Regions from separate parts of the Homo sapiens genome. Here region 2 is linked to region 1. The links are contacts of gene promoters, found by promoter capture Hi-C in blood cells and fetal thymus (Javierre and others, 2016). All regions are on one chromosome and are shown on one strand. Each heading gives the region's core, a stretch centred on a gene start or on the middle of the fragment in contact. The rest is flanking DNA. Distances are from core to core; before and after follow the strand shown.

Region 1 (6,533 bases), core at 2,956-5,455:
GTCTCCTTTTCTACAAAAAAAGGAAAATAATAGTATGCTGGTTTCCTAAGGCCATCTCAAAAATTAAATGAGACAATGCAAATAAAGCATTTGAGACAGTGCCTGGTACTCACTAAGGACTCTGTAAATGGTGGTTATCGTACTTAACTGTATTTTATGAGGCAAATTTTATTGCCATAATGCCATTTAAAAATTTGAGAACTCCTGAAATTGCAGGACTGTTCTTAGTAAAAGTCAAATGTCAGACTACATATATTACATATATGCCTATTTCCATATTTTGAATCTTCAATTATGACTTCTCCATTGAACTTGGGACCCCAACTGTCTATCATCTCAACTTGTAACAGTCTTCTCACACCTAACACAGTAAAAACTAAACTTTTTACATCCGTCACCCAATTTATTTGTTCTTCTCTCAGTCTTCCCTATTTCAATAAATAGCACAATCTAACCTACTGCTCAATCAAGGCAATTATCCATAATTCCTCTCTTTCTTTCAACCCTCAAACCCAATCCACCAGGAGCTCCTGTCGGATCTACCACCAAATCACAGCCCAAATTTTCCACTTCTCAGCATTGCCATTGCTATCAAACCAGGCCTAGCCACGATTATCTCTCTGCTGCTTCTGTTATTCCTTTATAGTCGACTCTCCACAAAGCAGCCACCCTTTACACACATAAAACCCCCCACTGTATTTATTTTTTTTTAGACAGGAATTTGTTATGTTGCCCAGGCTGGTCTCAAACTCCTGGCCTCAAGTGAGCCTTCTGTCTCAGCCTCCCAAGTAGCTGGGACTACAGGCATAAGCCACCACGCCCAGTTACCTCCACCATATTTAGAATAAAATCCTATGATGTTATACCTCCACCATATTTAGAATAAAATCCTATGATGTTATACCTGCCCAGTTACTGCCACCACATTTAGAATAAAATCCTATGACTTTACAGCTGCTTCCTCAACTTCGTCTTTCTTAACACCTCACTCATTTAAACTCTAGCCAGGCTGGCTTTATGTTCCTCAACAAAACTAGGGTCTCTGAATTTGCTGTTTCCTCTGCTTCAATCATTCTTGACTCTTATGTTTCTTCAGTGTCTGCACTCACATGTCACCTTTCTTGACCACCCAAAGTAGAGTCTCATAATCATTTCATACCATGTTGATTTACAAGCACATGCTATCTGAAATGATCTAATTTCTATACCTGTCTACCTCTTTCTAATGCAATGGCAGGGATCTCACTTTCCCATCTTCTGTTAAGTCACCTTCTCAATGAGGTCTTTAACGACCAACTATTTAAAATTCCAACATATGCATCTTGCCTAGTATTCCCTATTCCCTTCATTGTTTTTTTCTCCAAACCACTTATCACCATCTAACACACTATACATTTTATTTATCTTTCCTGCTTATTCCTCTCCTCCTACTAGAATCTAAGTCCACAAAGACAAGGATTTGTCTTTTTTTCACATTGTATCTGCAATGCCTAGAAGAGTAAGTTCCTGATAATAATAGGTCATCGATAAATATCCTAATGCAGCTGAATGAATGGGCCTTGTCTTGTTCAAAGCTGGATGGATCCTTAGCATCTTGAATACCCAGCATACAGGAGGCACTCAAATTTACTAACACAATGACTGTTAAGACACTCAGATTCTGAAGTACTACCAATTCAAAGAAAAACTGTATTTTGTTCAGTATAAACTGAAATTGAAGTATGATTCTATTTGTATGTTCAAAAGCTCCTATGACACACTTTTTAAAACAGTTAAGTATGTTTTATTGTATCTTAAGTAAAAAAAAAAAAAAAAAAAAAAAAAAAAGATTACCCAGTTGGGTAACTTAGCTTATAAAACTTAAAGCAACAGATTAATTAGAATGCCCTTTCCCTAGCAATGTCAGAAAAGTTTCTATGCTATAGAATTCAACAGAAAGGGAAGAACTAGTGATTTAGGAAAGAGAGCAGAATTGATGGATCAATGTCCTTGAGTAAGCAAGAAGGCATGGAATCTAATACTTTCGTGGAGGGAATTGCATAAATGAGGAAAACAGGCAATTTATCTATTCTAACAAGGAAAAAGGAAGATTATATGGTCACAGCTACAAGGAAGTGTATAGACAGGTGGTGGGAGACTATGGCAGTTCTCTTCTGACTGCTGAAATTGTCTTGGGCTACATTATCTAGTGAGGAGCATGGAGAAAATACGTAGTGAAAACAGAAAAGAACCCGGATGAGACCCCTGATGGATTCTAACTCTTAAAGAACAGTTAAAAACACAGCACCGAGTAGAAGTAGGGCTTAGAGGCATAACAGAAAACTAGCATACTGTGGTATCACAGAATATCAGCGTGATTGCTCAACTGTCATTCACTGAGGTACATCTGAGGAGTGAAATGGCCCAAAGCCAATTCACAACAGCCCGTGTAGAAGATGGCACACCAATCTTAACTTCGGAAGGGGTGCAAACATTACCAAAGCGCTGTCTTTCTACAACAGTCTATGCTGTAGCATAAAATCAACTATCTTGAGTGTGAATATGTATATGCCTTTCTTACAGAGTAAATTTAGCTTGTTTCTTCCAAAGAAATAATCTCCCAAATGGTAATGATATATTATTAAATTACCTTTTCCCCAAACGTTTTAAAAATAATAATCAAGAGATGGTATGTAATGAAGCATCGACGTGGGTAACTCTCAAACTTTATTGTCCTTGTAAAAAGTCTAACCTTTCCAAAACTCATCTGGGCTTTACCATTAAATCTGCGTCATAATTCTAGAGTTTGTCTTTCTTCTCTTTTTGAATAAAAGGTTTCAAAGTACAGCCTATTCGCTGGATCATGAGAATATGTTACTAAGAAGAATCACTTCATCCATGGGAAGCTGCAGTCAGCATTTTAAAGCAACACTGCCACCAGAAGACAAGAAAGAAAAGTAACTACTAACGACTACGGGGCAAGTTAAATACAAAATATTTACCTGGCCTCCCAACGCGGCTACATTACACCCTGCCTACCACCAACTCTTCAGAAAGGCTCATTCTTTCTCGCACCTCATCTTTGTAACTTTTTCCCCCCCAGCATTAGCCTATCTACTAAGACACATCAACCTAAAATCGTATCCTAATGTCCTATCTGTTGGTCTGGGTAGTGTTTACACAGGTGAACACAAATGTCGAAGTCTTTCACTGATTTTTTTTTCAAAATAAGTGATCAACATTGTGTCCTAGTAACTCCGCAACGTGTCACGGAATCGCTGAATTTGTCATTGTCCACAAGTGTAGAAAAATGTGGTCACAAGTCAGTCCTCGGCTCGCGTACGAAGAGGCGGTCTGCCCAGTGGGGACGCGGGACCCCCCTGTTTCCCCTATTTTTATTTATTTTTTACTTTTTTTGAGACAGAGTCTCACTCTGTCGCCCAGGCTGGAGTGCAGTGGCTCGATCTCGGCTCACTGCAACCTCTGCCTGCTAGATTCAAGCGATTCTCCTGCCTCAGCCTCCTGGGTAGCTGGGATTACAGGCGCCCGCCACCACGCCCGGCTAATTTTTGTATTTTTAGTAGAGACGGGGTTGCACCATGTTGGTCAGGCTGGTCTCGAACTCCTGACCTCGTGATCCGCCCGCCTGTGCTTCCCAAAGTGTGTTTCCCCTCTTAAGCAGTGGTTCGGACGGGAGCTTTCCCGGCCCGGCGCTCGCGTCCGGGATTAAAGGGCTGCCGCGGAGGGCGTGACCAGCCCAGCCTCGCCGCCGTCGCTTACCCGGTAGTTGCTCGAACCCACCCAGCCGGTGAGCGCGTCGACTGTCTTGCCTAGGCGGCCCAGGTCCTCCTCCAGGTCCGAGATGGCGCCGGGGGCGCCAAGGTAGAGCAGGAGCTCCTGGCCGACCTGCAGCCGGCCGCCGACGTCCTTCTGCTGCACCTGGGCGCAGAAGTACTCCATGCTGCGGGGCTCCATGGCTGCGGCCGCCCGCCCGCCTGCCAGTCTGTGAGCGGCCAACTTTCGCCGAGAGCCGCCCAGCCTCCAGTGCGGGTCCCCGCGGGAGCGGGCGGGACTCACTTAGCCCGCCAGGGGCGCGGCTTGCGGGGCGCAGCGGGCGGCGGGAGGAACGCCAAGCGCCCAGCCGCCCCCAAACTAGTCAAACTCGGCGCCCCCCGATCCCCAGCCCGCTTCAGAGGCCGCGGCCGCGGGCGACGTCAGCACGCGCGTGACGTCAGCACGACGCCGGCGAGGGCCCTCCAGTCCGGCTAGCGTTTTGCTGCGGAGGTGGTGGAGGTGGCTGCGGAAACCGCTGGGAGCGATAGGACCTCTAGGGAGACTTGGGGTCCGAGTTGGGCCGAGCCCCCTGGGAGGCGGGCCGTTCTTTGCTAGCCGCTGTCAGGGCACCCTGCCCTCGCCCTGTGAAATGTGGAACGTTTCCAAGTTTGCCTCCACTTGTATTCAACACTTAGGAAAGTACTTGGCATCCCCCTTTCCCGCCCCCACTGCCGGTTTAAAAAAAAAAAAAAAAAAGAATACACTCCTGACTTCTGCTTCCAGCCACCACCACAGTCACTGTGTAATACTTAAAAAAACAAAACAAAACAAAACTTAGGTTTGCCTAAAGTAAAACGCACAGATTTTCAGCGTACACTTCATGAGTTTCGGCAAATGTATTCACCCGTGGAACCGCCACCCCAGTGAGGGTACAGCACGTTTCCAACACCCCAGGAAGTCCCAGGACACTTCCCAATTATCTGCTCTTCCCTAGGCAATTCTAATTTGATTTCTAGCATGGTAACATAGTTTTCCCTGTTCCTGAACTTCATACAGTCTGTGCTTCTTTGGAGTCTGGTTTCTTTTAGCATAACGTTTGGGGTCCATCCAGCGCTGTTGGTGTCTCAGAAGTCCATTCCTTTTTATTGCTTTCCATTCTGTGGAATCACTACCATTTGTCGATCCATTCACTTGTTGGTAGATATTTGGGTTGTTTCCTATTTTTTATAATTATGAATAAAGCTGCTACAACGGTTAGTGCACAAGTTTTTGTGTGGATATATTTTCTTCTCTCATGGGTAAATAAATACCAAGGACTGGCATTACTAGGTCTTGTAAGTTGTATGTTTAACTTTAGAAGAACCTGCCAAATTGTTTACCAAAGTGACTGGATCATATTAAATCCCCACCAGCAATGCTTGAGAGTTCCAGTTGCTCCACAATATTTGATATGGTCAGGGTTATTAGTTTTAGCCATTCTGGTGGGGGTAAAGTTGTCTAATACATTCCAAAAGCACACTGTGTTTATCTTCTTGACAATTATTCCCAATCACAACAAAATGATTATTTATGTAATATCTTTCTCTTCTAATACACAGAAAGCTCCAGGAACCTTTGTGTTTTCCTAGGGTGGTGCCTAGCAAATAATGGGTGGCCAATTTAAGTTAAATGAGTGAATGAATTCAACAAAAATTGATATTTGAAATATTCACAATAACTAAGAATAAACAAACTCAAAATTCAAAGAAATTGACTGTTTTCTGTGTTCTTTTTTCAGTATTTCTGTGTTTCACATTGTATTGAGTTTGTAAAGTTTCTTCCATCTTTAATTGGTTGTAATTTCCCTCAGACTATGCCTCAATCAAGTAAACTATGTGTGATGGTTAATTTTATGTGTCAACTTGACTGGGGCAAGAGATGCCCAAATAGCTGGCAAAACATTATTTCTGAGTGTGTCTGTGAGAGAGTTTATGGAAGAGATTATCATTTGAATTGGTGAGCTGAGTAAAGCAGATGGCCCTTCCCAATGTCAGTGGACATCATCCAATTCGTTGAGGCCTGAACAGAACACAAGTGTGGAGAAAGGCCAAATTCACTCTCTCTGCTCGATCGGAAACATCCATCTTTTCCTGCTCTCAAAGATGGGTGCTCCTGGTTCTCAAACTTTAGTATTCAGACAGAAACTTATATCATCAGTCCTCCAATTCTCAGGCCTCCAGACTAGGACTGTATTACACCACCAGGTTTCCTGGTTCTCCAGCTTGCAAACAGCAGACATGAGACTTCTTGCCTCCCTTAACCGTGTGAGCCAATTCCTATAATAATTATCCTCTCATTAGGCCAAGTGCAGTGGTTCACACTTGTAATCCCGGCACTTTGGGAGACTGAGGTGGAAGGATCGCTTAAGCCCAGGAGTTCAAGACCAGCCTGGGCAACAAAGTGAGACCTTGTCTCTCCAAAAATAAAATCAATAAATTAGCCAAGCATGGTGGTGCACACCTGTGGTCCCAGCTACATGGGAGGCTGAGGCAAGAGGATCACTTGAGCCCAGGAGGTCGAGGCTGCAGTGAGCTGTGTTTGTGCCACTTCACTCCAGCCTGGGTGACAGAGCAAGACCCTGTCTCAAAAAAAAAATTAAAAAATTAAAAAAAATGATTCTCCACATATCTATCTACCGGTTCTGTTTCTCTGGAGAACCCTGACTAATACATTATGGTAACTATTCCTTGGGTTTGAGTGTCCAAAGGTTCTGTTCTTAAAGGGTTGCAGAAAGATATAAA
Region 2 (6,533 bases), core at 1,148-3,647, 670 kb before region 1:
CTTCTTACCCCTTCATTTACTGGGCTCCAGCCACACTGGCCTCCTTGCTAGTCTTTAAAAATGCCATATACCTTCCCAAGTTCTCACTGGCTGCATTCTGCCTGGAATGCTCTTGTCCAGGCGGAGATATGCCACATGGCTCTCTCACCACCTTAAAATTTTTGTTTGAGCTCCACCTTTTCAGGAAAGCCTACAGCCACCAAGCACCTAAAACTGCAACCTGGCGCATGCAGAGTACTTGATGAATGTTTGTTAAATCATTTGCCAATAAATGAACTATGTGGGTCAAGTGAAATACTATCTGAAGCCATTGTAGTAATGCCCCATGGGTTTTATTTTTTAAGGAGAGAACTAAAATACATGAAAACTAAACCCAGAGAATTAAAATACATGACAATAATAACATACAAATCAAGAGGGCTGTAATTGGAGTTACAGTAAGTTAAAGAGGGATGCAATATGGAGAAAGTAAAGATATTGATTAATTTTAAACTATTACAAGACAGCCAGACACAGGAGTGTATATTGTAGGAACTTGCTGCCTAAAAACGAGCAAAATGAATCTCTGGTGATAGAGGTGAGGACAGCTGTGAGCTCAGGAATGGGTATGTGTGTCAATGACTAGAGAGGGACATTAGAGGGGCTTCCGGGGAGCTATGTGTTTGTCACAGGGCTGCGCTCCCGTTGCCTAAATTCACTGAGCTGTGTACTACGAGTTGTTCTTTTCTGGGGGTATAGATGTCACACTTAAATGGTAACCACTAAAAAAATTAGAATGCAGTGAATAACTTCCAAAGTAGAAGAGGGGGGAAAGAAATAAGAGGAAAAAACAAAACAAAACAAAAAACCTCAATCTAAAAGAAAGCAATAAAGGGAAAGAAAGAGCCAAAAAGGTAAACGAATAGAAATTATAAAATAAGATAATTGAAATTCATCTATGTATATCAAGAAGTACAATGAATGAGAATGTATAAATATATCAGTTAAAAGACAAGAAATTTCAAACTAGATATTTTAAAAATTCGATTATATCCTGTTTATAAGGGACACATGTAAACAGAACAAAGGATATAAAAAGGATGAAATTACAGCATTGGGAAAGATACCTCAGAAAAATACCAAGCAAAAGTATGCAGGTAAATGGTGTTAATGAATAACAGACCAAAAAAAGAAAAAAAAAAAAAAAAAAGGCTTCCAGGCAAAAAGCCTTATTAGAAATAGAGGGTTATATAATCCCTTTACTATTAAGTACTGAAGGATGTAATTCTCAATTTGCCCACCTAATAACATAACCTCAGAACTGGCAGAGCTACAAAGGGAAATACATGAGGACAACTCTCACTAAATAGTAGACTGAACTGACAAAAAATTAGGAAGCAGATCAAAGATATCAATGGCACCATTAATAAACTTAATCTGATGAACATGTATGTAGAATATAGTCAACAACTGTAAAATATACTTTCTTTTTATGCGCACATTGACCATTAATATTGGTGTATGTCAGGCTCTAAGACTAGGCTCAGCAGCTTTCAAGGGATTGGTATCACAGACTATATTCTCTAACCAGAATGCAAAAAGACTAGAAATCAAAAAAACAGGAAAGTACTTATTTCCAGTAATTTAAAAAACACATATCAATGGTGAAGAGAAATCAAAATAGATATGTTTAGAAGCAAACAGTAAGAAATAGATTGCACATCAAAACTTACGAGATAAAGCCACAGCAGTACTTGAAGGAAATTTATAACCTTAAATATTTATATTAGAAAAGAAGAAAGGCTGCATTAAAAAGCTAAGCTTCAAATAAAGGAAGGAAATAATAAAGATAGGAACAGAAAGCTTCAAAACAGAACAAACATACAAGGGAGAGCTTGGGAGACATTACTATAAATTCTGTGGAGATTAAACCCATAATAAAGGAATAACATAAGCAACATTTTAACAATACATTTGAAAATTTAGATGAAATGGACAAATTATAAGTGTGGTAAGTCTAGATTGTATTTTTTATATTTAAAAAATTTGTAATATTCATTTTAACACATGCTTAAAATTAAAACGACATCATACTTAAAACAAAAAAAACCATACCATTTATAGGCAGAAAACCTTTGTTTTTTTAACTTCAAAACTCAGGTGACTGAGCATAAAAACTGTGGGTTTTTTCTTTTAACCCACAGCAGAGACAGGAAACCCCACCTAGGTGCATTAGGTGCCTCAAAAGGGTACAACGCTAGCAGGACTAAGCAGTTCAGATGCAGTCCAGAAACAGCAATCACTTGCTCCAAATAGAAAAATGAAGCTTCACTGACAGCTGACATCTGCACCATGCTTCACAGTATCTGAAGATTTTTTTTCCTATGTACATCAGCTATTTAAGTAGACACACATTTTCTTACATTTAAGATAAATAATAGTTAACGGCTACCACTTATTAGACATATATGTGTCAGGAACTGTCCTGGATGGCTTACATACGTTCTTTTCAAGCTTTACAGCACAACCAGATGCTGTAATCCCAGTTTTACAAATTAACAATCAGTAGACTGATTTGCTCATAGACTCACTCTTTTTTTTTTTTAGGTAAATAAATAATTATTGTTCATTTATTTGACTATGAAAGAAGAAAACAAACATTTATTGAGTGCCATTTATTTTTAAACTGTACAAGTCTGTGAGGTAAGTACGGCTACCTCTACTTTTATATAAAGGGAATTTACACAATTGGCTTAAGGTTGAAGAAATAGTGTCCAGGTTCAAAATCTGGTGTTCCTCATTCTGAAATCACATAGTCTGTATATTGGGCCACACATAAAAAGGAAAATAGTTTATCTTCTTCTCTCTTGCAAATAAGGACGGAGTTATTTTCTAGTGAGAAATAATTCTTATACACTTTGGTTACTGGAAACTTACTTTTTTCAGATGATGCATTAAATAAAGAAACCAGAGCTTAGCTTTACCTCTTTTGATATTGAAGTACATTAGCTGTGTCTCAAGGATAGGGGCTCCCATATATCCATGCTGCCTTAATAGGGGCTATAGTCTCAAGAGGATCTGTGCATTCTCTCCCATCACCCTACCTCTCACCTGAACTTTTGGAAAGATAATCTGGCCTGGAAGGAGAAGAAAATGGAGACAGAAATTTCCCCGGGTGAATTCTCACCATATAAGAAGTGAATCTGTAAGTAGCATTTAACACTGTATTATATATTGCAGTTTTTAAATACATGTCTTATATCTCCTACTCTCCTATAAGCATCTGCTCATAGACTCACTCTTAACCACGTGGGTACAAGATGCAAACCCAAGTCTAGCTGATGCCTCCCTTCATCCATCCTTTTAAACAGGAGGGCTCCAGGCAGGAAGTTGTCCACAGAGCCACAGTGAGTTCAAAAGAGGCTCTGTCCAAGATCAGCCCACCACAGCTCATACAAAGCACCCACCTTCTGGATGATGTTTCGCAGAGCAAAATACTTCTCAGTGAGGTCCCCAGCCTCACTCAGTGGGGCATCATAGTCGTAGCTGGTGGGCTGTGCTGCATAGGGTGAGTTGGCCCCTAGAAGACAAAAATGTGCCACTAGTTATTACTGATGGTGCAGCTCTGGGACAAGTTCTTTGGGATCCATGAGCTCAGCACTGTAGAGAGAGAAAACTAGAAGACACATTAAAACCACTTGTTGGGAGACACAGACGTGACCCTCAGGATGCAACGTTTAGAGGAAGGAATTTCTTTCTACAGGTAGCAGTTACCAGGCACCTTAGAGTTTACCAAGGACTCTTTCCATCCACTCTCTACAGAAGCTCACAGCTGTGATTCTAGCAGGTATCACCCCCACTGGACAAGCAGGGAATCTGAAGCTCCCCACAAAAATCTGCTAACACCTCACAAGCAGTAATGGCAGGGCTTATGATATGACCCCCATCTCTGACTGTTAATCCTGTCAACTCTGAACTTTTTCACGTCCTCAAGCTGTGGCTGAGAAAAGCTCAGTGGTGAAGACACAGATGACTAGGCCATGGATCAGCAGAAAACCCAGGGCTTATTAAACCAAACACAGCGGGAGATGACAGCAGACCCACATCAGCCACAGAGGTTCAAACATAATCCGAGGGCCTTTGTTGCATCTACAAAGACTGTCGATGGGGCTGTGGTGCACCTCTTGGATCCCCCTTTAGAACCAGGGCACTCACTCATTCTCCCAGCAGCTAGGGCTGTTGTCTGCTGACATTTCTCAGATGTGTCCGTCTCTGGGTGCTGGCCTGTGCTGAGCTGCCTCACCCAAGGTTACAACCCTCAGGGATAGCCCACATCCAACAACTGACCAATGTGCCTCGAACAGCCAACCCAGCTGCAGAGCTCCCTCTAAGATTGGATGAGGCCACTTGTGAAGCTGCATCATAGCCCCACTTCTCCCTCTCTATCCTACAGGCATTGCTCCAGAGAGCACAATCAATAAGCTTTCTACCAGGTAATCTCAGAGTCTGTTTCCCTGGGAACTTGACCTACAACAAAGACCAATGGATAATGCCAACACTGAGTATACAAAAGGACTAGAAAAACAAATGCCCCTGCAGTCACTGTGCAAGGGGCGGGGTCTAGACCAGAGGATCCCGACCTTGTCAGGGATGATGTTCACAGGTATGAGGTTGTCTGCAACATTGGGTGGTACTTCAAAAACTTACCCATGCTTAAGTGTCACATGGAGAGCTTGTTAAAACAGATTCCTAAGCCCCATCCCAGAGATTCTAATTCAGCAGGTCTGGAGTGGGGCCTGAAACTGCATTTCTAACAGGTGTCCAGGTGACGCTGATGCTGCCATCCATAGACCAGCAAGGCTTTGTGCCTTCCTCCTCTACTTCAGAGAGCATATTGCAATGCAAGTGTGTGAGAATGAAGTTATTTTAGGAATAGTCTTTTGTCCAACCTAATTTGTACATCAATGAGGCACAAAACATGATAGTTTACCTAGGATTAGTAATAAATTCCTTGGATGCAGCTCACCAATGATGGAGCCACCTTGGGTGACCTACTGGTTGTGGAGGTGACAGATGAGCAAGGCTGAGGATCAGATCAAGCAGGTCAGCTCCAAAGACTTTTTCATTAGTTCTCTGCACAGAATCTAAACTTTGAAAGATCTGGACCACTCAACCAACTGAACTGATCTAGTCATACCATTTCCCCCATTTCTTATTAATCAGAGACAACTCACAGCCAACAGGTCTGCCTGCCTTAAGGGATTCATAGGTTAAAACACATCCCTTCCTGTGAGACACAAAGAAAAAAAAAAACCCACATCCGTTGCTGCAAGGAACTCACCTTCTTTGTGGCCCTCGTCTGCTTCTAATGTGGTAGTCACCCATGCTGTGCTGTGTTTCTTATTTGTTATGTCTCTCTCCATGCTACACTGCTTGCACCTCAGGGGCAGAGACTGTGCCTCACTTGCCCTTGAGTCCTTAGCCAGAGCCCAGCATGGAGGGGGTTGCCAGGTTGAGTTGGGAAAGTGTGACCTCTAGAAGCACACTTTACAGGCCGAGGGAGCCCAGGCTGGGAAGCTGTCCAGTGGGTTTAAGGATGGATTGGAAGACTAAGTATTTGTTCTAGTTCTACTGGCAGAATCTTACTTTGGGTGTTTTTAGACCACCAAAGGGCAGCATCGCAGAGAAATGGTGCAGATTCAAGCCTCCTCTGGCCACTTAAGAGGGTGTGAGGTGGGAAGGTGAAAGAAATGGTGAGACTTTGCATTCATCAACATTCCACATTGTGTGAGAAGTACAGGAGCGCCTGGACCCTGTAGGCAGCCATCACACAGCTGTGGACACACACAGGTGTGGAGGAAGGAGACACACACCTGCACAGGCAGGTGCATGTTCCTGTGGGTGGGATGGGCAGTGAACTCCCCACTCCTGATGCCTTTCTCTCCCTGCTCTCCTCTAGGAAGCTGGCCTGAAGAACAGCTGCTAAGTACAGACTGGCCTTCTCTCACTTCCTCAAAGAGACAGGGCAAAAAGCAGCTTCAGGGAGGCTTGGCAGAACACAGTGGGGTGGGTGTGGGGGCTGGCTCAGGGGCTCCAGGGTGCAAAGGGTGATCCAAAGCGCAGTGACTCTGGCTCACCACCACCTGAGTTCCAGTCCAAGCTTCACCCCTTGCCAGCTGAACAGAAAACGTGTGGACTTTTTTTTGTATTCAGCTATTCTTATCTGAAAAGTGGTGCTGATAATCTCTAATTAAGATGAGGCTAATATGCAGGCTAAATAAGGCAACAGAGGAAGAAAGGGGAATTCTATGGATTATGGCAGAGGGAGGGGCAGGAGAGAGGATTAAGGACAACATTTATGTTCTGACAGTTTCTATAATGTCCAATTTTTTTTTAAGATGAATGTGTTATTTTAAGTATAACAGTAAGATTTTTAAAAAATTGTGTCATGAACCATAAAGTTCCAAAAACGATGCCTTTTTTCCTGGATCGGATGATTGGTCCCGATCCCATCAATGGCAGCTAGGGGGAATCCCCATCTACTAAGTGAAAAA

The links. The method cuts DNA at HindIII sites, captures the fragments that hold promoters and counts their contacts. A CHiCAGO score of 5 or more calls a contact.
Region 2: a contact is called between a fragment that was not itself captured here and the fragment with the promoter of CLASP2 in region 1, in 1 of 17 cell types (naive CD4 T cells). The highest score is 5.0, in naive CD4 T cells.

The regions. Positions count from the first base shown.
Region 1 is chr3:33,714,049-33,720,581 of GRCh38, forward strand. It overlaps CLASP2 (cytoplasmic linker associated protein 2), which reads right to left and starts at 4,206. Exons shown (of 39, transcript NM_001365631.1): 1 at 3,760-4,206. The coding sequence starts at 3,954. RefSeq lists a silencer at 3,938-4,277 and an enhancer at 4,478-4,567. The HindIII fragment of the contact is 12,344 bases long and covers 1-6,533 here.
Region 2 is chr3:33,042,674-33,049,206 of GRCh38, forward strand. GLB1 (galactosidase beta 1) reads right to left here. Exons shown (of 16, transcript NM_000404.4): 10 at 3,447-3,559. Among named protein-coding and RNA genes, the nearest start is that of GLB1, 51 kb to the right of the region's middle. The HindIII fragment of the contact is 188 bases long and covers 2,304-2,491 here.